6 separate regions of the Homo sapiens genome follow, and all the other regions are linked to region 2. Evidence: promoter capture Hi-C in human tissues and cell types (Jung and others, 2019). All regions are on one chromosome and are shown on one strand. Each heading gives the region's core, a stretch centred on a gene start or on the middle of the fragment in contact. The rest is flanking DNA. Distances are from core to core; before and after follow the strand shown. Region 1 overlaps CAND1.11 (a long non-coding RNA gene). Region 2 holds the start of CTR9 (CTR9 component of Paf1/RNA polymerase II complex). Region 3 overlaps AMPD3 (adenosine monophosphate deaminase 3). Region 4 overlaps CAND1.11 (a long non-coding RNA gene). Region 5 has its middle 13 kb from the start of AMPD3. Region 6 overlaps CAND1.11 (a long non-coding RNA gene).

What was found. Contacts are between HindIII fragments. The study calls those that stand out against the background at their distance.
Region 1: a contact is called between a fragment that was not itself captured here and the fragment with the promoter of CTR9 in region 2, in 2 of the 25 tissues and cell types used here (lymphoblastoid cells and spleen).
Region 3: a contact is called between a fragment that was not itself captured here and the fragment with the promoter of CTR9 in region 2, in 1 of the 25 tissues and cell types used here (H1 embryonic stem cells).
Region 4: a fragment that was not itself captured here is called in contact with the fragment with the promoter of CTR9 in region 2 in 1 of the 25 tissues and cell types used here (lymphoblastoid cells).
Region 5: a fragment that was not itself captured here is called in contact with the fragment with the promoter of CTR9 in region 2 in 1 of the 25 tissues and cell types used here (spleen).
Region 6: a contact is called between a fragment that was not itself captured here and the fragment with the promoter of CTR9 in region 2, in 1 of the 25 tissues and cell types used here (H1 embryonic stem cells).

Annotation. Positions count from the first base shown.
Region 1 is chr11:10,323,214-10,328,246 of GRCh38, forward strand. All of the region lies in intron 1 of CAND1.11 (a long non-coding RNA gene), which reads left to right. Among named protein-coding and RNA genes, the nearest start is that of CAND1.11, 17 kb to the left of the region's middle. The HindIII fragment of the contact is 5,263 bases long and covers 1,063-5,033 here.
Region 2 is chr11:10,748,024-10,752,495 of GRCh38, forward strand. CTR9 (CTR9 component of Paf1/RNA polymerase II complex) reads left to right here and starts at 3,223. Exons shown (of 25, transcript NM_014633.5): 1 at 3,223-3,434. The coding sequence starts at 3,390. RefSeq lists enhancers at 2,592-3,092, 2,891-3,040, 3,061-3,110. The HindIII fragment of the contact is 21,303 bases long and covers 1-4,472 here.
Region 3 is chr11:10,464,850-10,469,722 of GRCh38, forward strand. The region is part of intron 2 of AMPD3 (adenosine monophosphate deaminase 3); the gene reads left to right. Among named protein-coding and RNA genes, the nearest start is that of AMPD3, 12 kb to the left of the region's middle. The HindIII fragment of the contact is 3,528 bases long and covers 636-4,163 here.
Region 4 is chr11:10,351,508-10,355,986 of GRCh38, forward strand. All of the region lies in intron 2 of CAND1.11 (a long non-coding RNA gene), which reads left to right. Among named protein-coding and RNA genes, the nearest start is that of CAND1.11, 45 kb to the left of the region's middle. RefSeq lists enhancers at 1-1,646, 357-887, 888-1,419, 1,951-2,482, 2,483-3,013. The HindIII fragment of the contact is 7,535 bases long and covers 1-4,479 here.
Region 5 is chr11:10,440,365-10,444,931 of GRCh38, forward strand. No RefSeq gene overlaps it. Among named protein-coding and RNA genes, the nearest start is that of AMPD3, 13 kb to the right of the region's middle. The HindIII fragment of the contact is 3,104 bases long and covers 562-3,665 here.
Region 6 is chr11:10,419,302-10,424,319 of GRCh38, forward strand. The region is part of intron 3 of CAND1.11 (a long non-coding RNA gene); the gene reads left to right. Among named protein-coding and RNA genes, the nearest start is that of AMPD3, 33 kb to the right of the region's middle. The HindIII fragment of the contact is 3,899 bases long and covers 1,706-5,018 here.

The DNA.
Region 1 (5,033 bases), core at 2,444-4,943, 420 kb before region 2:
GTTTCTTTAGGAATAAATTCTTGAAACGGTTCTAGGTTGATTGTATATTGGTTATCTTAGCCAAGTGCCTTGGTGGTGAATTTGGGGGATTTTGGAATATAAGTTTATGTAGTTGTGTACCAACTGGACTGTCATTTCCTAGGATGAACTGTTGGACCACATGGGTGGCTTCTCTCTTTCAGTCCATTAAGTCCTGCCTCCCTCATCCCTTGCTGAGACTCAAGGGCAGACTCCTTGATCCCAGACAACTTTCCAAGGGAGTTCACGCAAGGCTCTGACCAGTGAGGCTCCAGAGCAAAACCCAGGAGGCTTATAGGTTTAAGTGTCTTTTCTTTATGGGCCAATGATGTCTGAAAACTGTAGCAGTAGGTAAATTCCCCAAGCACAGACTATTCTCTGCTGGGTGTCAGTGGGTGGTATTGGAAGTGCCTCTCAGAAGTGCTCTTCTCAGCTTGAGGTTCATTTGTGATGAGGTTCATTTGTGGTGTCTCCAGATGTTTTATCTTTGTCTTCCTTGAGGAAACTGAGGCAGATTAAGGAAGACGAGTGTCCAGGAAAGTAAAGGCTAGCTCCATTTGAATCACACCCAGGTGAGAATACTTGAGCTCAGGTTAGATGATGAGAGGGATGAGGAAAACAGTGGCTCCTCGGAGCTCAAATAAAGAGCACTGGAGCATTAATATAGTCATAAGCTTAGATGGGCTTGATAAAGCCCTTAGTCATCTTATTGGAGGCATCCAGAGGACAGAGGCTGCCTTGCCTTGACTATATTAGTGGCTTGTTGCTGCTCCAAATCAGAAAGTGGGATTTTCCTTTTTGCCTTCTTTGGGAAGATCCATTTGTATGTAAATGAGTTCTTTTTGATTGCAGTCATTGTTGTAGCTGAGAATTCTTTCAACCAAGATCTTTTTCTTGGCAGAGATTACTGAGTCTATTAAGTGTGTTTTCATATAATTCTAAGTGACTTTTTAGATGGACACAGAAAGAAGTGTTAAGGAAATGACCCTTGGTCTTTTCTCCTATCAAAGAGAAAAGGCATTTGAGTGGTATCGATAAGCATTGAAGGTAACTGATGGCTTATCACTGTGTCTGGCATTATAGCTGGCACATTTATTGACTGAATGGTCAAACTTATCACCCGTTGTTCTTCCCAGAAGGTTCGTGAGACCTGTTGGGGAGGGACGGGGATAGAAAGGAACAGAAGGAAGAGTCTCAGAGTTAATCAGGTGGAAAGTCTGTAAGTGGAGTGAACCATGGGAGCTAGAATGCTATGGTAGGACCAAAATTAATACTGTATATGTCAAAATAAATGTGTATTACTTATAAAGTATATACAGTTCCTAAAAATTATCAAACAAGGTTATTATGTACAACATTTCTCCCTTCTGTGTCTCATTCCCTAAATATTATGATTGTTAACATATTGCACAAGCTTGACCATGTTTATGCTTCATGTATTTTCTTGTTTATGTCCCCGTTGTTCTCCCTCAGTATTTTGTAAAGGCTTTGGAAAAGTTCCAGCCTATCTCAGCTATGTGAAGAAGAGTTCAGGGAAGGAGTTTGTATAACACTAAAGAAATGTCAGTATCTCCTCACAGGTAGGGGCTGACATGATGCCACGGCAATGGGAAATGAAGTGGGAAACCCGAAGCAGGAAGGAAAACTCAGGAGAACTGGGTTGGGATAGTGGTTTCAGCTTCTCCTCGCCTCCTAAAGAGTCTCTTGATAGTTCTCAGGCCTTGAAGGTTCTGCCTGCCCCCAGGTTCCCCACCCCAGGAAAATAAGCAACTTCTCAGGAGAATAATGAGGTTGGTGTTTACCTTTGTGCTTCATTTGAGTAGCATGAGAGCACCCCATTCCTCACATCTGTTCATTCTTCTCCCCTTAGAAATCTTGTCTCAGCTGAAAGGTCAGAGCTAGAAGCCCCAATCTGCTTCTAGCTCTGACCTTCTGGCTTTGTCAGGAATCCCTATGAATTTGTGCTGTTGATTTTCTTTGAACTAAATACAGAAATGTGTCTGCACTCTGGGATAGAGAAGAGAGTATAGTAATTGCCAGGAGAACTGAAGATGACCTTAAGGCAGGCCAGGTGACTGGTAAACCATACCCTTCACAAGGCTACCAGAGCTCTAGCCTGACCAATATTATTTTGAAAGGGAATACATTAGAATCCCTGGTGACTAGATGAACATGGCCATCACTATTTCTACAAACCTGTCTTCTGATGAACATATACTCCTGCTGGATGGTGTCAAGACATGCTTGTTTCTTGAGTGGTTTAGATACCAGTTATTGCCCCTCCTGTTATGCCTGGTAACTAGGATGCTGTCAAGAAAATACAGCAGGACTTCATTGAGCTTAAAAAGAGCGTTTCAAAAATATTGCATTAGCCTTTTGTCCTTTCAGTCTGTTTTTCATAGAACAAATGTAATCTTAGTCGCTACAAATTTGTTTAAAATAGCTCTTCTGGTGAGTCACCTAAAGTTAACTGCAGATATGGTATTGTTTTAGCCATGTCAAGCTTGAAATGTTATCCAAGTCCTAGGAACTACTCACTATGGGAAGCTGATGATGTATGTGCCCTCACACGTGTTTTGAGGGTGATCCTATAATGTCCGGAGAGAAAGAAATGCCTGAGATGAACTGGTCAGCATTACATTTCTCAGAACGGGCTGCAAGAGCTTCAGAAGCAAAAGGAGTGTTCTCTGTAGGCTCAGATGCTCACATGACCCAAGACACGTGAAGGGTCTGCCCATCATTCACCCCTCTATCCCCACAAGTGGTCAGAAAGTTAGGAAAATCTCCAAGAGACCATGCAGAAGGGTCAAAGGATCTTGCAGATGTTCTGAGCAAAAAAATGAAAACTTTAAACAGAACATTGTGCCATGACTTGAAAAGGTCATTATCTAGTTCACACTTACATCAGACTATAAATATTGTCAGAAAAATGGATATGTTTGCCAGGACCATGAACAGTAAAATTGCTTAAAATAGGCCACAGAAACCCTCAAGGCCAGTGGGGCCATGGCAGGCCATGACACTCAAACCTGATGCTGCCTTGTGAGAGACCTCAGCAGGAACAAAAGCCAACAGCTGCTTATTGGAAAATTTATACTCAGTGGCCCTCAAAAATTGCAAAAGCCTTTCAAGTCATGTAAGTTAATTTTGTCTCACTCTTCCACCAGGTAGAAGTGAGACAGGGAGACTCATGCTCCTTAAATGAGGTCCCTTGTCAAAGACTAGCTGTCTTATGGCCTTTGAATACTCTGCCCTTCCCCCTTCCTATGGTATAGCTTTGTGTCCAGTTAGCACTGAGCAGAAGCTGCTCTCCTGCTGTCCCCACCCACTGTTGGCTAAAGCCAGGTCACCTCCTGCCAGGCAGCGGCTGGGTGAAAGTCCAGAGAAGCTCTCCTGAATAAACAAGTCAAACAAAGGCAGTTCCCAGCAGTGGATGGGGCTGTACTCCAGAAGTCTATTTGCAAATCTGTCCTTTAGAACTCGGAAGACATTCCCCAGGAGGAGCAATGTTATGCAGTGTGGCAAGGTTCCCAGGCTAGCCCACACCTCTGATTTAACCCAGAATGGGCTGGGGAAACAGTGCTCTAGAACTCATCATTATGGGTAATACCTTTGTAGTCTCTGCTCTTCAGTTTACAAATAGTTGCTGAGCTAGGCATGGTTCCAGGTGATGTGAAGGTTCAAAGCTGCCTCAGCTTTGTGGAGTAGGTAGATTCAGTAGCTCCTGGGTGCACAGTGGCTGAGATTTTCCCAGTCTCATGAAATCCCTGCTTCTCTTTCCTATCTACATGTTTTAGGCTGAAAGTGAAGGGATGACCATTCCGGCTTTTCTTTGGTTTGTTTCTTCAAGATAACCTGGTGTAGGGAAGGGTGAGAGTCCTGGCTCTATCATTACACACAGCAGCATCTCCAAGCTTCAGTTTCTCCTCTGAAAAATAGGATAATATGTAGCTAAGAGAGCCTTGGAGTTGCCTCCCCAGCCCTTGTTCTTCTCTTGGTAACTACCATGACTTTTGTTAGGGTATCCACATCTCCCCCAATAGACCACTCCACTCCTGAAGACTCAGGCCTAGTGCAATTCCATTTTAAGGCCACTATTACAGGACCCAGTGATGGGTGCTGGCCTAATTCAGGCCAGTGAGCTTGCATAAGTTTATTGGCTTATTTCCAGAAAAACAAATTTCCTTTTTCCTGCTAGATAAGAATGGGACACATATGTGGTCTCACTAGCAATTCAGGCCAATGAGTTTGCATAAGTTTACTGGCTTATTTCCAGAAAAACAAGTTCCCTTTCTCCTGCTAGATAAAAGTGGGAGACATATGCAGTCTCAGCAGCAATAGAAAGCCACTCTGAGACTAAAACAGGGGCAAGCCCTAGATGGAAGCTCTCATTGTGAATGGCAGAGTGGAGTGATGGAAAATAGAACTCCCTGATAAAGTTGTTGAACTCCTAAATGGACCCATCCTCAATCCTGTCATACTTCTATTGTATAAACCAATCATCTCCTTCACTTAGTAACCCATAGTGAGTTGAGCTTTCTGCTCCTTTTAATGGAAGCCATCTTAATTAATACATTATAGCACAGGATTTACTATGGGCATTAAATGGGATATAGCATTCACAGTATCTGTCTCATGCTGAAAAAAGAAAAAAAATTCATAGTATTTAGCACAGAATTTATATATGACCCCTGCCCTTCCAGTCCAAGGGCATTAATGGAAAAGACCATAGTTTCTCAGGCCTTTGTTGGATAGGGAAGAAGAGGGCATGTGTGGACTCCAACACGACCTTAACCTGGTTTGAGGCTTGAATATCTTGCCTGGGCTAGAAAGGTGGCCCCTCTGGACTGGCTTTAATTTTAGGATCAGTCCCTTTAGAGGGAGTAGATCTTGTAAGCTGGGGTTTCCCTAGCCCTTGGCAAGTATACATGTTGAAGAGGGTTGGGAGACAAAGAGGGAAGAAAGGAGAGAACCATGACTTGCTGGTGTAATAACAAAAGGTCCTACCTATCTTT
Region 2 (4,472 bases), core at 1,973-4,472:
GCAACCTGGTACCAAGAGTGTAGTTTAAGTCTCAATTGTTGCCAGGCCCCTGATAGGTGATTCTCTCTTCATTGTCCTTGCTGATTCCTTGCAGGCCACCTTCCTCTTCACACCCTCTGTGTGCTAGAATTCCTCAGGCTGGGAACTAGGCCCTTCTCTTGTCACTCTCCATTCTCTCCCTAGGTTATCTAATCTAATTTAATCCCATAGTTTTAAAATTCATCTTTATGCCAATAGCTCTCAGACCTATTTCTCCAGGTTAGAAACTGTCTTCTAAATTACAGATCTGTAATTTAGACTATCTGAAATCTGCATCTGGCTGTCGCAGAGACAGTACAAACTACAAACAACACATGTGAAATCCAACTAGTGGTCTACCCTTGCCCAAATGTGCTCCTCCACTAATCTTTCCTATTTTAGGAAATGACACATCATTCACCCAGTTGTTCATGCCAGAAACTGGACGTCCTTCTTGACACTACTTTTTCAGTGACCCCGGCCTATATCCAATACATTGGCAAGTCCTAGTGACTAAGGTATCAACAGATGATTGATAGACAGATAGATAGATGATAATCTTAAATCCATCCACTTCTCTCCACCTCCACTGTCTTAAACCTATTCCTATTTATCATCTGTGACCTAGACAGCAGTTTCCTAAGTGGTCTGCCCACATCCTCTCGAGACACTTTCCAATCCATCTTTCACAACATAGCCAGAACAATCTTTTAAAACCAATTCTTTTTTTTTTTTTTCAGACAGAGTCTCACTCTGTCGCCCAGGCTGGAGTGCACCGGCATGATCTTGGCTCACTGCAACCTTCACCTCCGCCTCTGGGGCTCAAGTGATTCTCATGCCTCAGCCTCCTGAGTAGCTGGGATAACAGGCGTGCACCACCACACCCAGCTAATTTTTGTATCTTTAGTAGAGACAAATTTCACCATGTTGCCCAGACTGGTCTTGAATTCTTAAACTCATGTGATAGGCCACCTCGGCCACCCAAAGTACTGGGATTACAGGCATGAGCCACCGTGCCTGGCCAAAACCAATTCTCTTTTATTCTTTCTCCCTCTCATTGACACATACACATCACTTAAAGCATTTCAATCACTTTGCATGTAAGATAAAACCCCAAATCATTAATATATACTAAGTCAAAAGAAATTCTGAAGGACAAAAGCATTTAGAAAAAAAGTTTACTTACAAAAACACTTGCAAAAGTATACAGGTGAATTTACGCTTTAGAAGGACTGATACATCAAATGAACACACACCAAGGTTTACAGTTAGTTGCTTCATGGTGAGAAAAGAGCAATTTTCTCATATGATTGCCATATGACCCCAAGCTCCCACATATCTTCAGACTGTAGCAGTACAAAAGTCAGCAATTAAACTGTAAGAGAGTCAGTAATATATGGGAAATGCTGAAAGTTTTGTTCACTTTGGAGACTACAGAGTGTGATACTGTTGTTTCACGGTTTATTTCAGAACACAAAGTATTTTGTTTTTCCTGTGGGAAGTAATATGTACACTCACTCATTTTGGAAACAGGACAAGATGTCAGTTTTGCTTTATAAGCATAAACCCCAGCATGTCTGGGTACTTCTTATATCAGCTTCAACTCATGCCACTCTCCCCCTCATTTTCTACATTCTAGTCACATGACCTTCTTGCAGGTTCTCAAAGCTCTTCCCCAACATGCCGTCCCCTCTGTCTGGTACACATTCCCCTACATACTTTACCTGCCAAACCTTACTCATTTTCCCAGATGCAACTTAAATGTCACTTCCTCCAAATCCCACTCTAAACTGAGTGCCCCAACTATTCAATCATAGCACTCTGCATTATCAGGTATGATGCCTTTGGATGCGAATAACTGAAAAACCAAACCTATCAATAGAGTTTTTAATATCAGGGAGGCTTTTGGGCATGGAGAATAACAATCACCACTATGTGTACTTTTGTTTAATGCTTACTTTATAAACTTTAAAATATATTAAACAGTATTTCTGGGAAATACTGTCTGATGCCATCCAATGCAGTATTCACTAACCACATGTGGCTATTGAACACTTGAAATATGACTAATCCAATTAAGGAATTTAATTAGGAATTTTTTTAATTTAAATTTTGGAAAAACTAAAGTGTGTGAACCTATTTTTTCAACTGCAAACTTTATAAAATCTAAACACAGATCCAATATTTCCAATTAAAATCAGGCAACTGAGATCAGTGTATGCATGTGAAATACATATCGAATTTTCAAGACTCAGTATAAAAAAATGTAAAAATTATCTGAATTTTTATATTGACTACATGTTGAAATGAGATTTTGGATATATTACGTTAAATAAAATATATTACTAAAATTAATTTCCTCTTTTTTTTTTTTTTGAGGTGGAGTCTCGATCGATCCCCAGTCTGGAGCGCAGTGGCTGATCTCGGCTCAGCGCAACCTCCGTCTCCCGGGTTCAAGCGAGTCTCCTGTTTCAGTCTCCCTGGTAGCTGGGATTACAGGCGCCCACCACCGCGCCGGGCTAATTTTTGTATTTTTAGTATAGACGGGTTTTCACCATGTTGGTCAGGCTGGTCTCGAACTCCTGACCTCAGATGATCCGCCCGCCTTGGCCTCCCAAAGTGCTGGGATTACAGGCGTGAGCCACCGCGCCTGGCCTCATCTGCAATTTTACTTAAATCACAAATATACTAGATCTTCTTACATGCTTCGAAGAACTAAAAAAAATAAGACATGAATTATCACAATGATTACCGAATTAATTGTAAATTTTTTTATTTAAACTAGTCACAAAGGTATCACAGGTATGACTTACACCTAACGGGGGCCAAAAGATGGGTTGCGAAACGAATGACTGAATTATCCCTAACAATCTTGGGAAGAAAACAGGATTGGCCAGGCCCATCCCGAGAGGTCCACGTCAGGCAGGGGCCCCGCCCACCGCGGGACCAAGCGGCTACGCCTTCCAAGTTTTCATTCGGGGCCGCGCCAGCGCTGAGGAGAGTCAGACGCCAGATGGTTCCGAAGGTCCTGCAGGCTCTCGGGGCACCCTACAGCCGACACGCCAACAAAAGCTTCGGAGCCGCCAACCCCAAAACGGAAACACCGGAGCCACAAGCTGAGCTCGCGTAGGGCACGCTCCCCCGGGAGTGCTTCCGGGACAGGGGGCGGGGTCGCCGGAAGTGGCCGTCCGCCGTCCGCTGCTCGTTGTTTAAGCGGCTGACGGGAAGGAGAAGCCAGAGCTCCAGCGGCGCCGCGGGGCGGCAGTCAAGACCAGAGCCGGAGCCGTCACTCACCTCTGGATTAGCCTGAAGCGGAGACTACCGGCTGCGGAGCGGCGGGGCGAGACACTTGCTCGCCTTTTGACCCCATCATGTCGCGGGGCTCCATCGAGATTCCCCTCCGGGACACTGACGAGGTAAGTGTCGTGTATGGAGGCGGGTGGGGGCCATGAACTTGTACGATCGCCCCCACCGACTTCGCTCGACTTCGTTTCTGAAGCGAGAGCATCCTCCTTCCCTAAGAGCCCTGATCGAAATACCTGGCCAAGGTCTGATCATCATCTTCTTCAGCCCCTGTGCCCTCTCAGGCTGGGGGCACCGCGTCTCTGCAGCCTCAGGGCCACTCGGAGAAGGAGTTCTTGAAAGTTCCTCTCCAGCCTGTTCGAATTTGACAGTGCGCTACTCTTTTCCTAACCAACCCACGGGAGCAGAGGTGTGAGAGTACCCGATAAACTGTAAAACACCTCGCAGATTACAGAGGTGGGCGCTGATGTTTCCGGGGTTTATATGCTTGCTGCTCAAACTCGAGATCTTTCCCTGGGAATATATAGGAGGTCGCCTCTTCTCCCTTAGAAACTCGAGTCTGTCATGGTGCGCTGTGTTCTCTACACCAACTCTCCTTCAACGAGATATCCCAAGATTTAGCCGCCCCTGTGTGCTGATAAAATTTAACCTCCTCTCGCTTACCTATGTCTCATTCATGGGTGGCCTGTGGCTTGTCTGAGTAAAGCTCTCAGCTTTGATGTTCAGTCTTCTTGTATATCTTTTATTTTTATTTTTTTTGTTTGAGATATAATATTGAGGTATAAAATTCAGTGGTTTTTAGTGTATTCGCAAAGTTGTATAGTCATTACCTCTAATTCCAGGACATTTTCCTATTATTATTTTTGTGCTTACAGTCAGGACTGTCTGTTACACGCAGGTGCCACCTCCATGATTAATGTGTGCAGTGGCATTCAACTTTGCATGGCTTGTAGGGTCATGCATCTCAAGGAGTCAGACCTATGGCATAATAGTCTCTAGGGTGCTTATCTGCACTTTACTTGGATTCTATGTTAAGTAGGATTTTGTTTTGTTATTTTTTAGTAAGCAGACCATTTCTAGTATTTTATAGTTCCAGTGATCTGGGGACAAGTAGCAGGGTTTGTTTGCTTCTCTGTGCTTTAACTTTATTA
Region 3 (4,873 bases), core at 1,150-3,649, 280 kb before region 2:
TATATTGTTTCTTATCCCGTGGCAGATTTAAAGAAGCAAATTAGAAGCAGGGAGAGAGACTTCTACAGGCAGGGTCACAGAGGTGATGTGTGGTGATTATAAGCCTGGGCTTTGGGGTCAGACCTATTGGGTTCAAGTGGCAGCCCTGTCACTTACTACTGAATGGCCTTGGTCAAAGCTCTTGACTGCCTGAGCTGGTTTCCTAAACTGCAAAATGAGAATAATAAAAGGACATACCTTGTGAGAATTAAATGAGCGAATACACAAAAAATCCTTAGCGCAGTGCTTGGAGCACCATTAATGTTCCTGTTTTGTTATTGTTGTTATTAGACAGTCAACAGTGAGAGAGGAAACAAAATAATTATGAAAAGCAGGCACAAGAATTTGAAGCACAGTAGTTTAGGGATAACACACCTCTGAGATCATAACTGGATAATACAGTGATGATCCTGGGTCATTGAGAAAACTTTAAATTATGTTCAGCATGCTTTGAGGAAGAATGCAGGAATTATGTATTTTTTTAAGAAGCCAGATAAAAATTGATTTTTAAAAAATTAGGATATAGTTAAGGCTGGCAAGATGGCCAATTAGGAACATCTCCGGTCTGCAGCTCCCAGTGAGATCGATGCAGAAGGGGGTGATTTCTGCATTTCCAACTGAGGTACTGGTTCATCTCACTGGGGCTAGTTGGACAGCGGGTGCAGCCCAAGGAGGGTGAGCCAAAGCAAGGTGAGGCGTTGCCTCACCTGAGAAGCACAAGGGATGGGGGAATTATCTTCCTTACCCAAGGGAAGCCTTGAGGGACTGAGCCTGAGGAACTGTGCACTCTGGCCCAGATACTGTGCTTTTCCCATGGTCCTTGCAACCTGCAGACCAGGAGACTGCCTCTGGTGCCTACACCACCAGGGCCCTGGGTTTCAAGCACAAAACAGGGCGGCCATTCAGGCAGACACTGAACTAGCTGCAGGAGTTTTTTTTTTTTTTTTTTTTTCTGTACCCCAGTGGCGCCTGGAGCGCCAGCAAGACAGAATCATTCACTCCCCTGGAAAGGGGGCTAAAGCCAGGGAGCCAAGTGGTCTGGCTTGGCAGGTCCCAGCCCCATGGAGCCCAGCAAACTAAGATCCACTGGTGGCCAGGCGCAGTGGCTCATGCCTGTAATCCCAGCACTTAGGGAGGCCAAGGCGAGTGGATCACCTGACGTCAGGAGTTCAAGACCAGCCTGGCCAACATGGTGAAACCTCATCTCTACTAAAAATACAAAGATTAGCCGGGCGTGGTGGGGGGCACCTGTAATCCCAGTTACTTGGGAGGTTGAGGCAGGAGAATCGCTTGAACCCAGGAGAAGGAGGTTGCAGTGATCTGAGATCGCACCATTGCACTGAGCTTGGGTGACAAGAGCAAAACTCCGTCTCAAAGAAAAAAAAAAAAGATCCACTGGCTCAAAATTCTCACTGCCAGCACAGCAGCAGTCTGAGATCAATCTGGGACACTCAAGCTTCGTAGGGGGAGGGTCGTTGGCCATTGCTGAGGCTTGAGTAGGAGGTTTTACCCTCACAGTGTAAACAAAGCCACCAGGAAGTTCAAACTAGGTGGAACCCACCGCAGCTCAGCAAAGCTGCTGTGGCCAGACTGCCTCTCTAGATTTCTTCTCTCTGGGCAGGGCATCTCTGAAAAAAAGGCAGCAGCCCCAATCAGGGACTTATAGATAAAACCCCCATCTCCCTGGGACAGAGCACCTGGGGGAAGGGGCAGCTGTGGGCACAGCTTCAGCAGACATAAATGTCCCTGCCTGACAGCTCTGAAGAGACCAGCAGTCCTCCCAGCACAGCGTTCAAGCTCTGCTAAGGGTGAGACTGCCTCCTCAAGTGGGTCCCTAACCCCCGTGTATCCTGACTGGGAGACACCTCCCAGTAGGGGCCGACAGGCATCTCATACAGGAGAGCTCTGGCTGGCATCAGGCAAGTGCCCCTCTGGGATGAAGCTTCCAGAGGAAAGAACAGGCAGCAGTCTTTGCTGTTCTGCAGCCTCCACTAGTGACACCCAGCCAAACAGGGTCTGGAGTGGACCTCCAGCAAACTCTAGCAGAGGGGTCTGATTGTTAGGAGGAAATCTAACAAACAGAAAGGAATAGCACATCTAATCAGAGACCACATCCGAAAATCACCAGCATCAAAGACCAAAGATAGATAAATCCACGAAGATGGGGATGTAAACCAGTGCAAAAAGGCTGAAAATTCCAAAAACCAGAATGCCTCTTCTCCTCCAAATGATCACAACTCCTTGCCAGCAAGGGAAAAAAACTGGACAGAGAATGAGTTTGACCAATTGACAGAAGTAGGCTTCAGAAGGTGGGTAATAACAAACGCCTCTGAGCTAAAGGAACATGTTCTAACCCAATGCAAGGAAGATAAGAACCTTGAAAAAAGGATAGATGAATTGCTAACTAGAAAAACCAGTTTAGAGAAGAACATAAATGACCTGATGGAGCAGAAAAACACAGCACGAGAACATTGTGAAGCATTCACAAGTATGAATAGCTGAATCAATCAAACGGAAGAAAGGATATCAGAGATTGAAGACCAACTTAATGAAATAAAATAAGAAGACAAGATAAGAGGAAAAAAAATGAAAAGGAATGAACAAAGCCTCCAAGAAATATGGGACTATGTGCAAAGACCAAACCTACGTTTGATGGATGTACCTGAAAGTGACGGGGAGAATCGAAACAAGTGGAAAACACTCTTCAGGATATTATCCAGGAAAACTTCCCCAACCTAGCAAGACAAGCCAACATTCAAATTCAGGAAATACAGAGAACACCACAAAGATATTCCTCGAGAAGAGCAACCCCAAGACACATAATCGTCAGATGCCCCAAGGTTGAAATGAAGGAAAAAATGTTAAGGGCAGCCAGAGAGAAAGGTCAGGCTACCCACAAAGAGAAGCCCATCAGACTAACAGCAGATCTCTCTGCAGAAACCCTACAAGCCAGAAGAGAGTGGGGGCCAATATTCAACATTCTTGAAGAAAAGAATTTTCAACCCAGAATTTCATATGCAGCCAAACAAAGCTTCATAAGCAAAGGAGAAATAAAATCCTTTACAGACAAGCAAATGCTGAGAGATTTTGTCACCACCAGGCCTGCCTTACAAGAGCTCCTGAAGGAAGCACTAAACCTGGAAGGGAGCAACCGGTACCAGCCACTGCAAAAACATACCAAATTGTAAAGACTATCAACACTTCGAAGAAACTGCATCAACTAATGGGCAAAACAACCAGCTAGCATCATGATGACAGGATCAAATTCACACGTAACAATATTAGCCTTAAATGTAAACGGGCTAAATGCCCCAATTAAAACACACAGACTGGCAAATTGGATGAAGAGTCAAGACCCAACAGTGTGCTGTATTCAGGAGACTCATCTCAAGTGCAAAGACAGACATAGGCTCAAAATAAAGGGATGGAGGAATATTTACCAAGCAAATGGAAAGAAAAAAAAAAAAGCAGAAGTTGCAAGTTTAACCTCTGATAAAACAGACTTTAAACCAACAAAGATCAAAAGAGACAAGGAAGGGCATTACATAATGGTAAAGGGATCAATGCAACAAGAAGAGCTAACTGTCCTAAATATATATGCACCCAACACAGGAGCACCCAGATTCATAAAGCAAGTCTTAGAGACCTACAAAGAGACTTAGACTCCCACACAATAATAATGGGAGACTTTAACACCCCATTGTGAATATTAGACAGATCAACGAGACAAAATTAACAAGGATATTCAGGACTTGAACTCAGCTCTGGAACAAGCTCCAACCCAAATCAACAGAATATACATTCTTCTCAGCACCTCATCACACTTACTTTAAAATTGACCACATAATTGGAAGTAAAACACTCCTCAGCAAACGCAAAAGAATGGAAATCATAACAAACAGTCTCTCAGACCACAGTGCAATCAAATTAGAACTCAGGATTAAGAAACTCACTCAAAACCACACAACTACATGGAAACTGAAAAATCTGCTCCTGAATGACTACTGGGTAAATAAGGAAATGAAGGCAGAAATAAAGATGTTCTTTGAAACCAGTGAGAACAAAGACACAACGTACCAGAATCTCTGGGACACATTTAAAGCAGTGTGTAGTGGGAAATTTATAGCACTAAATGTCCACAAGAGAAAGCAGGAAAGATCTAAAATCAACACCCTAACATCACAATTAAAAGAGCTAGAGAAGCAAGAGCAAACAAATTCAAAAGCTAGCAGAAGACAAGAAATAACTAAGATCAGAGCAGAACCGAAGGAGATAGAGACATGAAAAACTCTTCAAAAACTCAATGAATCCAGGAGCTGTTTTTTTTTTGAAAAGATCAATGAAATAAATAGACTGCTAGCAAGACTAACAAAGAGAAAAAGAGAGAAGAATCAAATAGACACAATAAAAAATAATAAACGGGGTATCACCACTGATCCCACAGAAATACAGACTACCATCGGAGAATACTATAAACACCTCTATGCAAATAAATTAGAAAATCTAGAAGAATTGGATAAATTCCTGGATGCATACACTCTCCCAAGTCTAAACCAGGAAGAAGTTGAATCCCTGAATAGACCAATAACAAGTTATGAAATTGAGGCAGTAATGAATAGCCTACCAACCAAAAAAAGCCCAGAACCAGACAGATTCACAGCCAAATTCTACCAGAGGTACAAAGAGGAGCTGGTACCATTCCTTCTGAAACTATTCCCAACAATAGTTTGGAGCTGGTACCATTCCTTCTGAAACTATTCCAAACTCATTTTATGAGGCCAGCATCATCCTGATGCCAAAACATGGCAGAGACACAACAGAGAAAATTTCAGGC
Region 4 (4,479 bases), core at 1,005-3,504, 400 kb before region 2:
ATACTTGGGGTATAATTAAATGAGATAAGGTAAGTTAAATCTCCACCCAGCACCTGGCCCACGGAAGCTAATCAGTAAATATTTCCTTGGGAGCCCATGACCTTGGCTGACCTCGTGTGTGTCCCTTCCCACAGCACGGGGCTCTTTGCATGCCGGGAAGTCTCAGAATGTCTGCCTCCTTGCTAAGCCGATTTTGCAAGGAGTCTTCTTGATGGTATCACCAAGCTCTGAGATATGGAGACTTTGTGCCACTTCACTCTAGGCAGAGTTCCTTCATGCTGTGTGAGGTAGGAGCACACACGCTCACCAAAGAAAACACCCTTTAGCCTGGTTGGGAGACTCCCGGGTTAGGCGCTGATGTAATTTGTTTTCACAAAAACTGTAGCAGCCTTCTGAGTTAAGCATTTGCTCAGCTGGTCTTTGCCAGACGACAGATGCTTTGTGTCATTGCCTGTTGACAGTGGCCTTAGTCACACATTGTACCTCAAAGGCTGAAACATCCCAGGGTAAAATGATTATGAGGAAGGCGAGCTGCTCCAGAGATCTGGAGGGATCACGTTGGGTACCCAGCCGGGCTGGCCCCAGGGATTCTACTCCAGGTGTAAGAGAATTGGTTAAACAAAGGAAATGACAATCAGTTCAGGCCCTTACTGTGATTGGGCACGAATGTTCTCAGAGCTGCCATAGATATTTTAATCAGGATGTCCTTTTCACTTGAATGAGAGGAATGCAGGTTCTATATTTACTTGTTTGTCCCTTCTATCAGATTGTGAGGCCCAAGGGGGCAGGCGCCTCTAACTGATTCATCAGCCTGTGCCTGCTGCGTAGCACAAAGCCAAGCACAAAGCCGGGCACAAAGGACTCACTTGGCGAAAGTTTGTGGGATGGAAGAATGAATGCGGTGTCTTCCTCGGAGTCCCCTCTTTTCAGGCTCCGCTTTATACCCTTTCTCTGGCGCAGGTCCCTGCTCACTGCAGGTGTCTCCTAAGAGCTTATGTCCCTATGTTTCCTTCTCATCCTGGAAACGGAAGTTTATTTTGAAGCCTGCTCTATTGTTCGTCCGGCTTGTAATCCCAAACTGAATGGGACTGATTTGTTGTATGCTTGGCTGGTCTTCACAACGCATGTTTTTGTGATATGTAACATTTCCTTTTAGATCAAGTGTGGCCTGGTATAGTTGCAAGGGCCAGAGCGTCCAGGGCAGCTGGTGTTCTGAATTTCAGCCTTCCCATTTTCTATTGTTTTATTTTTTTAATTATTATTATTATATTTTATAGAGATGGGGTCTCCCTGTGTTACCCAGGCTGATCTCTAACTCCTGGGCTCAAGTGATTCTCCCTCCTTGGCCTCCCAAAGGCATGAGCCACCATTCCCAGCCCCATTTTCTAATTGTGTAATTCAGTAAATTGGATTTCATAGAACCTCAGCTTCCTTTGTCCATAAAGTGGATATAACAAGGTGAACTTGGCTGAGATTAGACCCAAATATTTTTGGATCACTTGAGAAGTAAGTAGAGACTGAAAAAGAACTGTCATTTGTAATCCGTACACATTTTTGTGTTTCTAAAAAGAGGAAACGTCTCAGAAAATGCTTCTTATAGGCCGTATGCAAATATAGAGAAAAAAATCTTACCTTGGGATGGGGGAAGTTCTGCTACTATGACTCCAATAACTAAAATGTTTGGCAAAATTGTGTAAAATGTCAACATATTAGGCAGAGTTGATCTCTTCAAAAGGTTTTATTTGGAGCATTTTATCTTTCTTTCTCTTTCTTTTTCTTTGTCTGTCTCCTTCCCTTCTCTGCCTTCCCTCCTTTTCTTTTCTTTTTCTTTTCTTTTTTCTTTTTCTTTCCTTTTCTTTTCTTTTTCTTTCCTTTTTCTTTTTCTTTTTCTTTTCTTTTCTTTTCTTTTCTTTTCTTTTCTTTTCTTTTCTTTTCTTTTCTTTTCTTTTCTTTTCAGATAGGGTCCGGCTCTGTCACCCAAGCTGGAGTGCAGTGACACAATCATGGCTCACTGCAGCCTTGACCTCCTGGGCGCAAGCAGTCCTCCCATCTCAGTCTCCTGAGTAGCTAGGTGTATAGTTATGTGCCACCATGCCTGGCTATTTTTTTTATTTTTATTTTTTTGCAGAGATGGAGTCTCACTATGTTGCCCAGGCTGGTCTCAAACTCCTGGGCTCAAATGATCCTCCCACGTCAGCCTCCCAAAATGCTGGCTTTATAGGTGAGAGCCACCATGCCCAGCCTAAAATTTCCTATGTATTTACAATGCCATTTGTCACTTTATTATTGCTTGCTCTTGAAAATTTTTTAACGGATAAGCCATTTTTCTTTTTTTCTGAGACAGAGTCTTGTTCTGTTGCCCTGGCTGGAGTGCAGTGGCATGATCTCTGCTTACCGCAGCCTCAATCTCCTGGGCTCAAGCGATCCTCTCACCTCAGCTTCCTGAGTAGCTGGGACTATAGGGGCACCATGACTAGCTAATTTTTGTATTTTTTGTAGAGATGAGGTTTTGCCATGTTGCCCAGGCTGGTCTTGAACTCCTGGGCTCAAGCAATTGGCCCACTTTAGCCTCCCAAAGTGCTGGGATTACAAGCGTGAGCCACTATGCCAGGCCGAATAAGCCATTTTCCAACTAGACAATCATAGAAACTCAAGAGCTGAGACACTGAAGATGGCTAGACAACTGTATAACCATGATCATAGACTCATGCTAGAGGAGAGAATGGGGAAAAGAACTTAACTGGGCTTTATGGGACTCAGCATTGACTGGGCTGTTATTATCACACACAGTGTTCTATGGTTAGAATGCTTGTTATGTTATTGTTTAGAAGTTGGAGTTTTCCACGAAATAGACACATTAATTCTCAGGCCTCCTGGAACACGATCAATCCTAAGGCAGGAAATAAAGACTAAGGACATGGAGCTTAGGTTGAAGTGTGAGGGAAATAACTGCCTCCTTGATCTGAACCTCAAGGATTTGTAGAATGAAGTATCTTCCCACTGTGGGGAGGCAGGCTGGCCCTTCCTCCATGGCAGCAGTAGAGAGCAATGTAGAAGTCAAACCCAGAGACTGGGGAATCTGGGCAAAGGTACTGAGTTTCAAGTTTCTCTCTGTTGTAATTCTCTTTTCTCTCCAAGCCTTTGGTAATGTCTTGTTAAAAGTTTCAGCCTAGTCTGCTTTATCACAACAGGGAAATGGTGGAGGAGTCTGTACAGCCCATGCTGGGGCACAACAGTGGAGTTAGGAAAGTTGTACCCTGAAGGAAGCAGGTGTTCAGACATAGGAGTCCCCCATGTGGGGCCAGGCAGCTGGCAGAGATGAAAAGTACAGAGGAAATGGGTGGACCACGTAAGTGTTCCCCAGCGGAATTGGATAAAATCCTGATTTCACGAAGTCAAGTAGGATGAGGCTCAAGCTACAATGATGGTGCATTAAATAGAAGCATGAGTTTACAAACTGGTGAAGTCTGACATACTTGAGTTCTATTAGACACTAATGTCTACTTCATTCAGCTATAAAGGACATACTATTATAGTCAGATCTCACTAAATAAATAAATTCAATTCATAGCTATGATCGTAGCTACATTTCCAGTATAAATTTAATTGATCGATCTTTGAGATTCCTTCGTGTTCAGAAGTTCTGTGAGTTTATGGGGTACTGGAAATACCACTGGAGTCAGCCCCGCCCGAGTGTCCATTAGATCCCCCAACCACATCCCCCTCATTCACTGTCTTCTTTCCCCTCAACTGGCATGGAGTGTGGGGCAATACAGGAATGTTTCAGAACGTGTAGCCAGGGCATGTTGTAATTTATTAGGAGTCACTCTTAAGTGGAGAGGATCTTATTCTTCAGATAGTCATTCACATTCTTGGAAATTATGGTTCTGAGGTCTCCTTGGTTGCAGGAGGGGAAACTCCCATTAATCTTGTGACGTGCTGATGAATTGCTTGAGAATTTCTTAAAAGCAGAGGAGACATGTCAGGAGGAACATAAACAAAACCTCAATTTCAAAATAGCAAAACAACATAAATCTTCCTTGAAATTTTCACATGAGTAGATCAGGCCATGCTACAGGTCAAGGCCAAAGAGCCACAAGGCAGACTGTGTTCCCCAAAGATGGCCACAGCAGCATCTCTCCTCCCACATGTTCTTCCTATGATGACATGTTGGCACTTGTACAACCCTCCTTGTGAGAGATGTGGTCTATATTCCATCTGCTTGAATCTGTACAGGCTTGTGAATTTGGGGGAAATTATGCTATGTAATTTCTGAGCCTAGGTCATAAAAGCTATGGTTTCTGCCTGGTTCTTGTGAGATATTTGCTCTTGGAACTTATAGTAGATATCTATTGCTATGTAACAACCCCAAAACTTAGTAGTTTAAGACAATACACATTTATTATCCATCCCACAGTGTTTCTGAGTTAGGAACTCAACCACAGTTTAACTGTGTCTTCTGCTTCAGAATCTTTCACA
Region 5 (4,567 bases), core at 864-3,363, 310 kb before region 2:
GCCAGGGAACATGAGACAAATAAATAACTTGGAATCTGGCTTCATTGGAAGCTTGCTGCATAATCACTGTAGCTGCTCTCTCATCTTGGCCCTTTAGGCCCAGAAAGTAACAGCCCTGATATTATTAGCTCTTGAGTCTTGCACAGACCCTCACTGTTTCCCTACACACTTGCCACACCTTTGAAAATAGTCCTTCTATGAAATGACCTGTTAAATCAATTTGCCTAATATGAATGCACCATCTGCCTGCTGCTGGGACTACTGATGCAGAAGCCATTCTGTTGATGGCTCCAGGGGGACCCTCTGGAACTCTGGCTCTCAGTAACCAGCTCTGGAGATAAAAGACAGGGACTGAGATTTAAATGGTGGACCCTTTATATCACATAAAACTAAAGATATAGATTGTGACTTCACTGACATACTTCAGAGATCCCTGGTAGAAATTTGGTAATACATGGCAGCCTAACTCATCAGGATGAGTAGAGATTAAAGAGATCTGATTTGAGGCAGGAATGGGGTGGTGGTATTAGGGGACAAGAAGGCTACAGTCAGACCTCAGCCCAGGGCCATGATCATCACTCAGACCTATTCCTCTTGCTCTATGGAGAGGAGCTGAACAGAAGGCCAGACCCTGGAAGAGGAAAAGAATTAAAGTTGAAGACTCCCCTGAAGAAGGAGGAGGGTGGAATGGGTGGTACCTGGCACTAGAGTGTCTGCACAGGGAGTGGCATGAGTGGGCACCTCTACAACTTTGATGGAAGGAAGCAAGGTGCTTACAGAGTAGCTGTGGGGAGAAGAACTTTCTTCCCCTCTGACCTTCAGAATATGCTCACGTGGAAGGAATGCGTGAGACACACAGCTGGAAATGTTGAGAAAACACAAGAGCCTGGGCCTGAGGAATCTTAAAATAGGTTTGTTATATATTTAATAAATGCTGGAAAAGTGACAGGATTTGGAAAAGTTAATGTAAAAACAGCACCACCCTGGAGCACTAAATCTGGTTTTATTTACCCGGGCCATCTGGTACTTCCCTTTGGTAAAGTAAGGAATTTATACACATTGAAAACCAAGCTTTAATGCGTAAACTTAACAGAATGTCCAATCACAAGTATGTGATAGAAGTAAAGTAGGGGAAGAAATGACTCAGGTATTATTCCCCTCAATTCTCCCAGGACCTTTGCACATGCCATTCCCCATGTCTCCTCCCTCATATCCTGACGAAGGTTGAGTTTTCTTGTTATGCTCTGGTATGGTTCTTGTATTTTTTCTTCACAGCTCTATCATAGTTTGAAGTCATTTGATTAACGTCCTGTGTCACCCACTAGCTGATGACCTCCATGAAGACAAGAATGGTGCTCTGCTCACCACTGTTGCTCTAGGACCCAGTGGCTGACACCTAGATGCTCAATAGATCTTTCATGGATGACAACATGAAGGACTTTTAAAGCATGTCAAGTTGAGACTAGCTTCCCAAATTAGAGAAGGTGACACATAATATATTAATATAATCCTGGTAACCTCAGGCCTATGTTGCCTCCATTTCTCTGACACATTTCTGACACATTACCAGGAGGGAGTCCTGCTGATGTCAGGAATTCATGAGGAAGGGGGGTGAAAACTTTAATCAGATCAAATCTTACCTTTAGAGCAGGAGAGACATACTTTCTCTTTGATCTCCCTGAAACTGCCAAAAGGTTTTTGCCGAACTCATAGGTCTTTGGACCTTTCAGTGGGTGCTACAACTATGCAAATATCGTGGTGCACCAAGACCAAGCTGGAGAAGTTCTGAGGTTGTGAGGATATCTAAACTGTGCTGTGTTGATATTTTTATCTGCTCTCTTTGATGCAAGCTTCTAGGCCTGGTATACTCAAGTTAACCACGAAAACCAATGGCGGTTATATTTGGAAAGGAAGGCTATGCCCTGGTGAAATTATACGTGAGACACAAAAAATACTGAGGTCACTGGTCAGTGATGTTAGAGAGCAGCTCAGTAAGGCCAGTGGGAGGTGTGATATGGTGGCTTAATTAAAAGGCCTCTGGCCTGTGCCCTCTGCCTTTTATTCTTCGTCACTTCCTCCTTTCTGCTCCATGAAACATGAGTGTAATGGCTGAAGCTCTAGCCTCCGCCTCTTTTTTTTTTTTTTTTGAGACGGAGTCTCGCTCTGTCGCCCAGGCCGGACTGCGGACTGCAGTGGCGCAATCTCGGCTCACTGCAAGCTCCGCTTCCCGGGTTCACGCCATTCTCCTGCCTCAGCCTCCCGAGTAGCTGGGACTACAGGCGCCCGCCACCGCGCCCGGCTAATTTTTTTTGTATTTTTTTTAGTAGAGACGGGGTTTCACCTTGTTAGCCAGGATGGTCTCGATCTCCTGACCTCATGATCCACCCGCCTCGGCCTCCCAAAGTGCTGGGATTACAGGCGTGAGCCACCGCGCCCGGCCGCCTCCGCCTCTTCCTTAACAAAGGAAGAGCTAATTTCCCACGCCCCCCCTCCCACCACAAAGTATGAGGGCCACACTGGAGGGATGGTAGAGTGATGGCTGGAAGAAGTGTGGGGCTTTTGTGGAACAGCCTGTAATGTCCAACTCTGGACTATTTAGGGAAAGGAAATGAGACAGAAATTTTTCTCTTGTTTAGGCCACTATTATTGTGGGTCTCTGTTACCATCAGCCGAACTTAATTCCCGTGAATATATTTGTGAACACTAAATTATTGGTGCATCATAAGCTTTCATCATGTTCATTTAGATAGGGATCTGAACTTTGCCATAGGTGACTGGTAGTGATCTGGATCCAGTGGGAATTGTCTGGAATGTGATCAAGACATGAAATGTGCAGATGGGCCAGTGACGAGGGCTTACCTTTTGGGAGCAGTTGACAGGTGATAGATACCGATGACTTCTAGCTGATTTATTCCTCTTAAAGAGTCATCCTTTGGATGAATCGTGAGCTATGGAAACGATTGCTCACCCTGAGCTGTTTGGGGCTTGTGTTCTTCTCAAGATTTCTGAGGACCTGGCTCGAGCTTCTGTGTCAGAGTCCTCATTCTGACTATGGGGCCTCAGTCCTTTTTTGGTGTTTATGCTCTTTCTCTGGCTGCTGCCCTCCTTTCCTCTTCTGAGCCTTGCCAGTGTGGAACATGACTGTCTTCTGTGTTCCCCCAGAACACGGCTAAACCGCTTTGCCTGAAGCCTTGGGGATACTGGATGGTGGATAGAGACCCACATGCTCTGCCCTGTTCATACTTAATGTTCCAAAGAAATAGTAAAGTTCTGCAATAACAGTTTCTAAAAAAATTCAATCTTTAATTTTGTTGTTCTTTTGATAATTTTTTACTGTGGTAAAAATATATATATAAGTTGCCATTTTAACCATTTTGCATGTGCAATTCAGCAGCATTAATTGCATTCACAATGTCATACAATCATCACAATTTTTTGATTTCCCAAATTAAATTCTTTAAAAAATGTTTAAAAATTTTTTAAAAATTTTTGTTATTTTTGTTTTAGATTCAGGGGGTACATGTGCAGGTGTGTTACATAGGCATATTGCGTAATGCTGAGGTTTAGGCTTCTACCAAATTAAATTCTTAAATAGAGCCCTCTTTCCTGACCCAGAGATGTTATAGCCCCAGTGAGGTCATAGTTCGGCTTCTTTTTAAATAACAGGAATTCAGGAACTTGAAAAATCCCCATGCTTTTCTCTGGTATAATTTTAGCCACCCCTTCCTCCAGATGTCCCTGGTAGAATGCACAGATCTGTGGATGTATTGAGTGTTGATGGTACTGTCGAAGGCTGATGGTGGCCAGCCCCTGGAGTCTGACATTCAACTGGGAAGCAAACACCGTGGGACAGGAAGGCTACAGACCCTCACTCCAGATTCAGCTTTTGACCCTATTGCCCATTGAATGGTTGGGTGAGCAGTTCTGAACAAGGCACCAGGACGAAGGTAGCTTGAGACTAGGAAAACTAGAAGCTACAGCCAGGGAGGACTCCTGGGAAAGAGTATGGCCTAAGGGGAATGTGTGTGTGGTGGGCAGGTGGGCAGCAATGGGGGAGACTGCATCTCTGGGAGACAGAGGTCATAGCCTCACCTGAGTTCCACTCTACTCACCTCCCTCTCCCTGCTTCCAAAAATTTTAGACGGCTATGGTCAGCCTAGAATTTGAAGTCTGAATTTCAGATGATAAGGCAGAAGAGTTGAAGCAGATTGAGGGCAGAGAATTTGGGAAATTCTATTTGAAGCTGTGACTCTCATCTATGGATGTTCAGCTGCAGAGTCTCACCAGAATAATGTAATGTTGAGGCTGCTGGTGGCATTTTGGAGACTATGAAAGATACACAAACATGGAAACAAGATAGTGGTGACCTGGAGCAATAAACTCTACTTGTGTAGCTGAGGATGATCTTGTACAGAGTCCTGGCAAGAAGGTAGAGACGACAGGTCATTCTTAGATGGAGTAAAGGACTGCTAATTTTCAGACTTCAGTTTGATTCAGAAACTGTGTCCCTATCAGCAGACAGCCATGCCTGGGGAGCACCAGCCCCCTGCCATGCACTTAGATAATG
Region 6 (5,018 bases), core at 2,405-4,904, 330 kb before region 2:
AAACATGCTGGAAGAATAATTTTTTCAGCAGCTGTGTTAGCTATGTTCTTTTTGCCACATGATATGCAACTAAATATGATGATACGGCTCTCTCACTAACAGTAGTAGAACAACTAAGAAATTGTGTTGATCATTTTATGTCTTCTTTCTTTCTTCGAAAATATTCAAGAGGCTTATCAATAAGTTCAGCATGCTGAATTTCTAAGTGCCTTTTTAATTTAGGTTTTAAGCTTTCATTTGCAAGAATATTATTACAAATAACACACTGAGGTCTGTCATTTTCAGTGGGCTTTTCACATTTGATAAAGCCATATTTTAAGTAATCATAATAGCGTCTTGCACTTAAGTTTTTCTTTTTGAAATGAGGCTCAAATGAAGTTTCAGTTTGCAGATTAGAGTCTGTATTTTTCTCAGTATTGTCACTATTCACACTTCCAAATTCAACAGATGAACTTCAGCATGCTTCTGTATATTTCATTTCATGATTCCTCTTTCTTTTAATAAAGAAATTATGCATTTAATAGCAATTTTTTCCAGTTTGATTAAAATGGTATAATTGGTACTAACTCAAAAAAGAAGAAAAAAATACACATATATATAGTTTAAATGACATCTTTTCAAAAACTACACTCAAAGTTTGCAATTGAATCTCAGTTGACTATCTCCAGTTTCAAGTCATTGTAATATAAAACTTGACTGCACAACATTCACTTTGCTAATATGAAAACCAAGCGAGACACCCAAGAGCAAATGACTGAAAACCACTTCTTAGCCAACATACATTGTATTCATCATATCCCCTCCATCAAATACCTTTCTCACATATTGAAATTGACCTCACTATTCCTTGCAACATGCACAATTCAGGCAAAGGATCCATGCAAAGCACTTTGATATTTTACACTTTTTAAGTTATACTTTAAGTTCTGGGATACATGTGCAAAATGTGCAGGTTTGTTACATACGTATACACATGCCATGTTGATTTGCTGCACCCATCAACCCGTCATCTACATTAGATATTTCTCCTAATGCTATCCCTCCCCCATCCCCCCACCCCAACAGGCCCCAGTGTGTGATGTTCTCCTCCCTGTGTCCATGTGTTCTCATTGTTCAACTCCCACTTATGAGTGAGAATATGTGGTGTTTGGTTTTCTGCTCCTGTGTTAGTTTGCTGAGAATGATGGTTTCCAGCTTCATCCATGTTCCTGCAAAGGACATAAACTCATCCTTTTTTATGGCTGCATAGTATTCCATGGTGTATATGTGCCACATTTTCTTTATCCAGCCTATCATTGATGGGCATTTGGGTTGGTTCCAAGTCTTTGCTATTGTGAACAGTGCTGCAATAAACATACGTGTGCATGTGTCTTTACAGTAGAATGATTTATAATCCTTTGGGTATATACCCAGTAATGGGATCACTGGGTCAAATGGTATTTCTGGTTCTAGATCCTTAAAGAATCGCCACACTGTCTTCCACAATGGTTGAACTAATTTACACTCCCACTAACAGTGTAAAAGCATTCCTATTTCTCCACATCCTCTCCAACATCTGTTGTTTCCTGACTTTTTAATGATCACCATTCTAACTGGTGTGAGATGGTATCTCATTGTGGTTTTGATTTGCATTTCTCTAATGACCAGTGATGATGAGCATTTTTTCATATGTTTATTGGCCACATAAATGTTTTCTATTGAGACGTGTCCTATTCATATCCTTCGCTGACTTTTTGATGGGGTTGTTTTTTCTGAGGGTTGCCTGTTTACTCTGATGATAGTTTCTTTTGCTGTGCAGAAGCTCTTTAGTTTAATTAGATCCCATTTGTCAATTTTGACTTTTGTTGCCATTGCTTTTGGTGTTTTAGACATGAAGTCGTTGCCCATGCCTATGTCCTGAATGGTATTGCCTAGGTTTTCTTCTAGGGTTTTTATGGTTTTAGGTCCTACATCTAAGTCTTTAATCCATCTTGAGTTAATTTTTGTATTAGGTGTAAGGAAGGGGTCCATTTTCAGTTTACTGCATATGGCTAGCCTGTTTTCCCAACACCATTTATTAAATAGGGAATCCTTTCCCCATTGCTTGTTTCTGTCAAGTTTGTCAAAGAGCAGATGGCTGTAGATGTGTGGCATTTATTTCTGAGGCCTCTGTTCTGTTCCGTTGGTCTATATGTCTGTTGTAGTACCAGTACCATGCTGTTTTGGTTACTGTAGCCTTGTAGTATAGTTTGAAGTCAGGTAGTGTGATGCTTCCAGCTTTGTTCTTTCTGCTTAGGACTGTCTTCACTATATGGGCTCTTTTTTGGTTCCAAATGAAATTTAAAGTAGTTTTTTCTAATTCTGTGAAGAAAGTCAATGGTAGCTTGTTGGGGATAGCATTGAACCTATAAATTACCTTGGGCAGCATGGCCATTTTCACGGTATTGATTCTTGCTATCCATGAGCATGGAATGTTTTTCTATTTGTTTGTGTCGTCTCTTATTTCCTTGAGCATTGGTTTGTAGTTCTCCTTGAAAAGGTCCTTCACATCCCTCGTAAGTTCTATTCCTAGGTATTTTATTCTCTTAGTAGCAATTGAGAATGGGAGTTCACTCATGATTTGGCTCTGTTTGTCTATTATTGGTGTATAGGAATGCCTGTGATTTTTGTACACTGATTTTGTGTCTTGAGACTTTGCTAAAGTTTCTTATCAGCTAAGGAGATTTTGCGCTGAGATGATGGGGTTTTCTAAATGTACAATCATGTCATCTGCGAAGAGAGACAATTTGACTTCCTCTCTTGTTATTTGAATACCCTTTATTTCTTTCTCTTGCCTGATTGCCCTGGCCAGAACTTCCAATACTATGTTGAGTAGGAGTGGTGAGAGAGGGCATCCTTGTCTTGTGCCGGTTTTCAAAGGGAATGCTTCCAGTTTTTGCCCATTCAGTATGATATTGCCTGTGGGTTTGTCATAAATAGCTCTTATTATTTTGAGATACGTTCCATCAATACCTAGTTTATTGAGAGTTTTTAGCATGAAGGGGTGCTGAATTATATCAAAGGCCTTTTCTGCATCTATTCAGATAATCATGTGTTTTTTGTCATTGGTTCTGCTTATGTGATGGATTACATTTATTGATTTGCATATGTTGAACCAGCCTTGCATCCCAGCTATGGAGCCAACTTGATCGTGGTGGATAAGCTTTTGGATGTGCTGCTAGATTTGGTTTGCTGGTATTTTATTGAGGATTTTCCTATCAATGTTCATCAGGGATATTGGCCTGAAATTTTCTTTTTCTGTTGTGCCTCTGCCAGGTTTTGGTATCAGGATGATGCTGGCCTCATAAAATGAGTTAGGGAGGAGTCCCTCATCTTCTATTGTTTGGAATAGTTTCAGAAGGAATGGTACCAGCTCCTCTTTGTCCCTCTGGTAGAATTTGGCTGTGAATCTGTCTGGTTCTGAGCTTTTTTTGGTTGGTAGGCTATTCATTACTGCCTCAATTTCAGAACTTGTTATTGGTCTATTCAGGGATTTCACTTCTTCCTGGTTTAGTCTTGAGAGGGTGTATGTGTCCAGGAATTTATCCATTTCTTCTAGATTGTTTAGTGTATTTGCGTAGAGGTGTTTATAGTATTCTCTGTTGGTAGTTTATATTTCTGTGGGATTAATGGTGATATCCCCTTTATCATTTTTTATTGCTTCTATTTGATTCTTCTGTCTATTCTTCTTTATTAGTCTGGCTAGTGGTCTATCTATTTTGTTGATCTTTTCAAAAAACTGGCTCCTAGATTCATTGATTTTTTTGAAGGGTTTTTTGTGTCTCTATCTCATTGCTGCTCTGATCTCAGTTATTTCTTGTCTTCTGCTAGGTTTTGAATTTGTTTGCTCTTGCTTCACTAGTTCTTTTAATTGTGATGTTAGGGTGTCGAGTTTAGATCTTTCCTGCTTTCTCCTGTGGCCATTAAGTGCTATAAATTTCCCTCTAAACACTGCCTTAGCTGTGTCCCAGAGATTCTGGTATGTTGTGTGTCTGTTCTCATTGGTTTCAAAGAACTTATTTATTTCTGCCTTAATTTTGTTATTTACCCAGTAGGCATTCAGGAGCAGGTTGTTCAGTTTCTATGTAGTTGTGCAGCTTTGAGTGAGTTTCTTAATCCTGAGTTCTAATTTGATTTCACTGTGGTCTGAGAGACTGTTTGCTATGATTTCCATTCTTTTGCATTTCCTGAGGAGTGTTTTATTTCCAATTATGTGGTCTATTTTAGAATAAGTGTGATGTGGTACTGAGAAGAATGTATATTCTATTGATTTGGGGTGGAGAGTTCTGTAGATGTCTATTAGGTCTGCTTGGTCCAGAGCTGAGTTTGAGTCCTGAATATCTTTGTTAATTTTCTGTCTCGTTGATCTGCCAGTGGGGTGTTAAAGTCTCCCCCTATTATTGTGTGGGAGTCTAAGTCTCTTTGTAGGTCTCTAAGAACTTTATGAATCTGGGTGCTCCTGTATTGGGTGCGTATATATTTAGGCTAGTTAGCTCTTCTTGTTGCGTTGATCCCTTTAACATTATGTAATGCCCTTCTTTGTCGCTTTTGATCTTTGTTGGTTTAAAGTCTGTTTCATCAGAGACTAGGATTGCAACCCCTGCTTTTTTTTTTTTTCTTTCCATTTGCTTGGTAAATATTCCTCCATCCCTTTATTTTGAACCTATGTATGTCTTTGCAAGTGAGATGAGTCTCCTGAATACTGATGCGTCTTGACTCTTCATCCAATTTGCCAGTTTGTGTCTTTTAATTGGAGCATTTAGCCTGTTTACATTTAAGGTTAGTATTGTTATGTGTGAATTTGATTCTGTTATTATGATGCTAGCTGGTTATTTTGCCCGTCAGTTGATACAGTTTCTTCATAGTGTCGATGGTCTTTACAATTTGGTATGTTTGCAGTGGCTGGTACTGGTTGTTCCTTTCCATGTTTAGTGCTTCCTTCAGGAGCTCTTGTAAGGCAGGCCTGGTGGTGACAAAATCTCTCAGCATTTGCTTGTCTG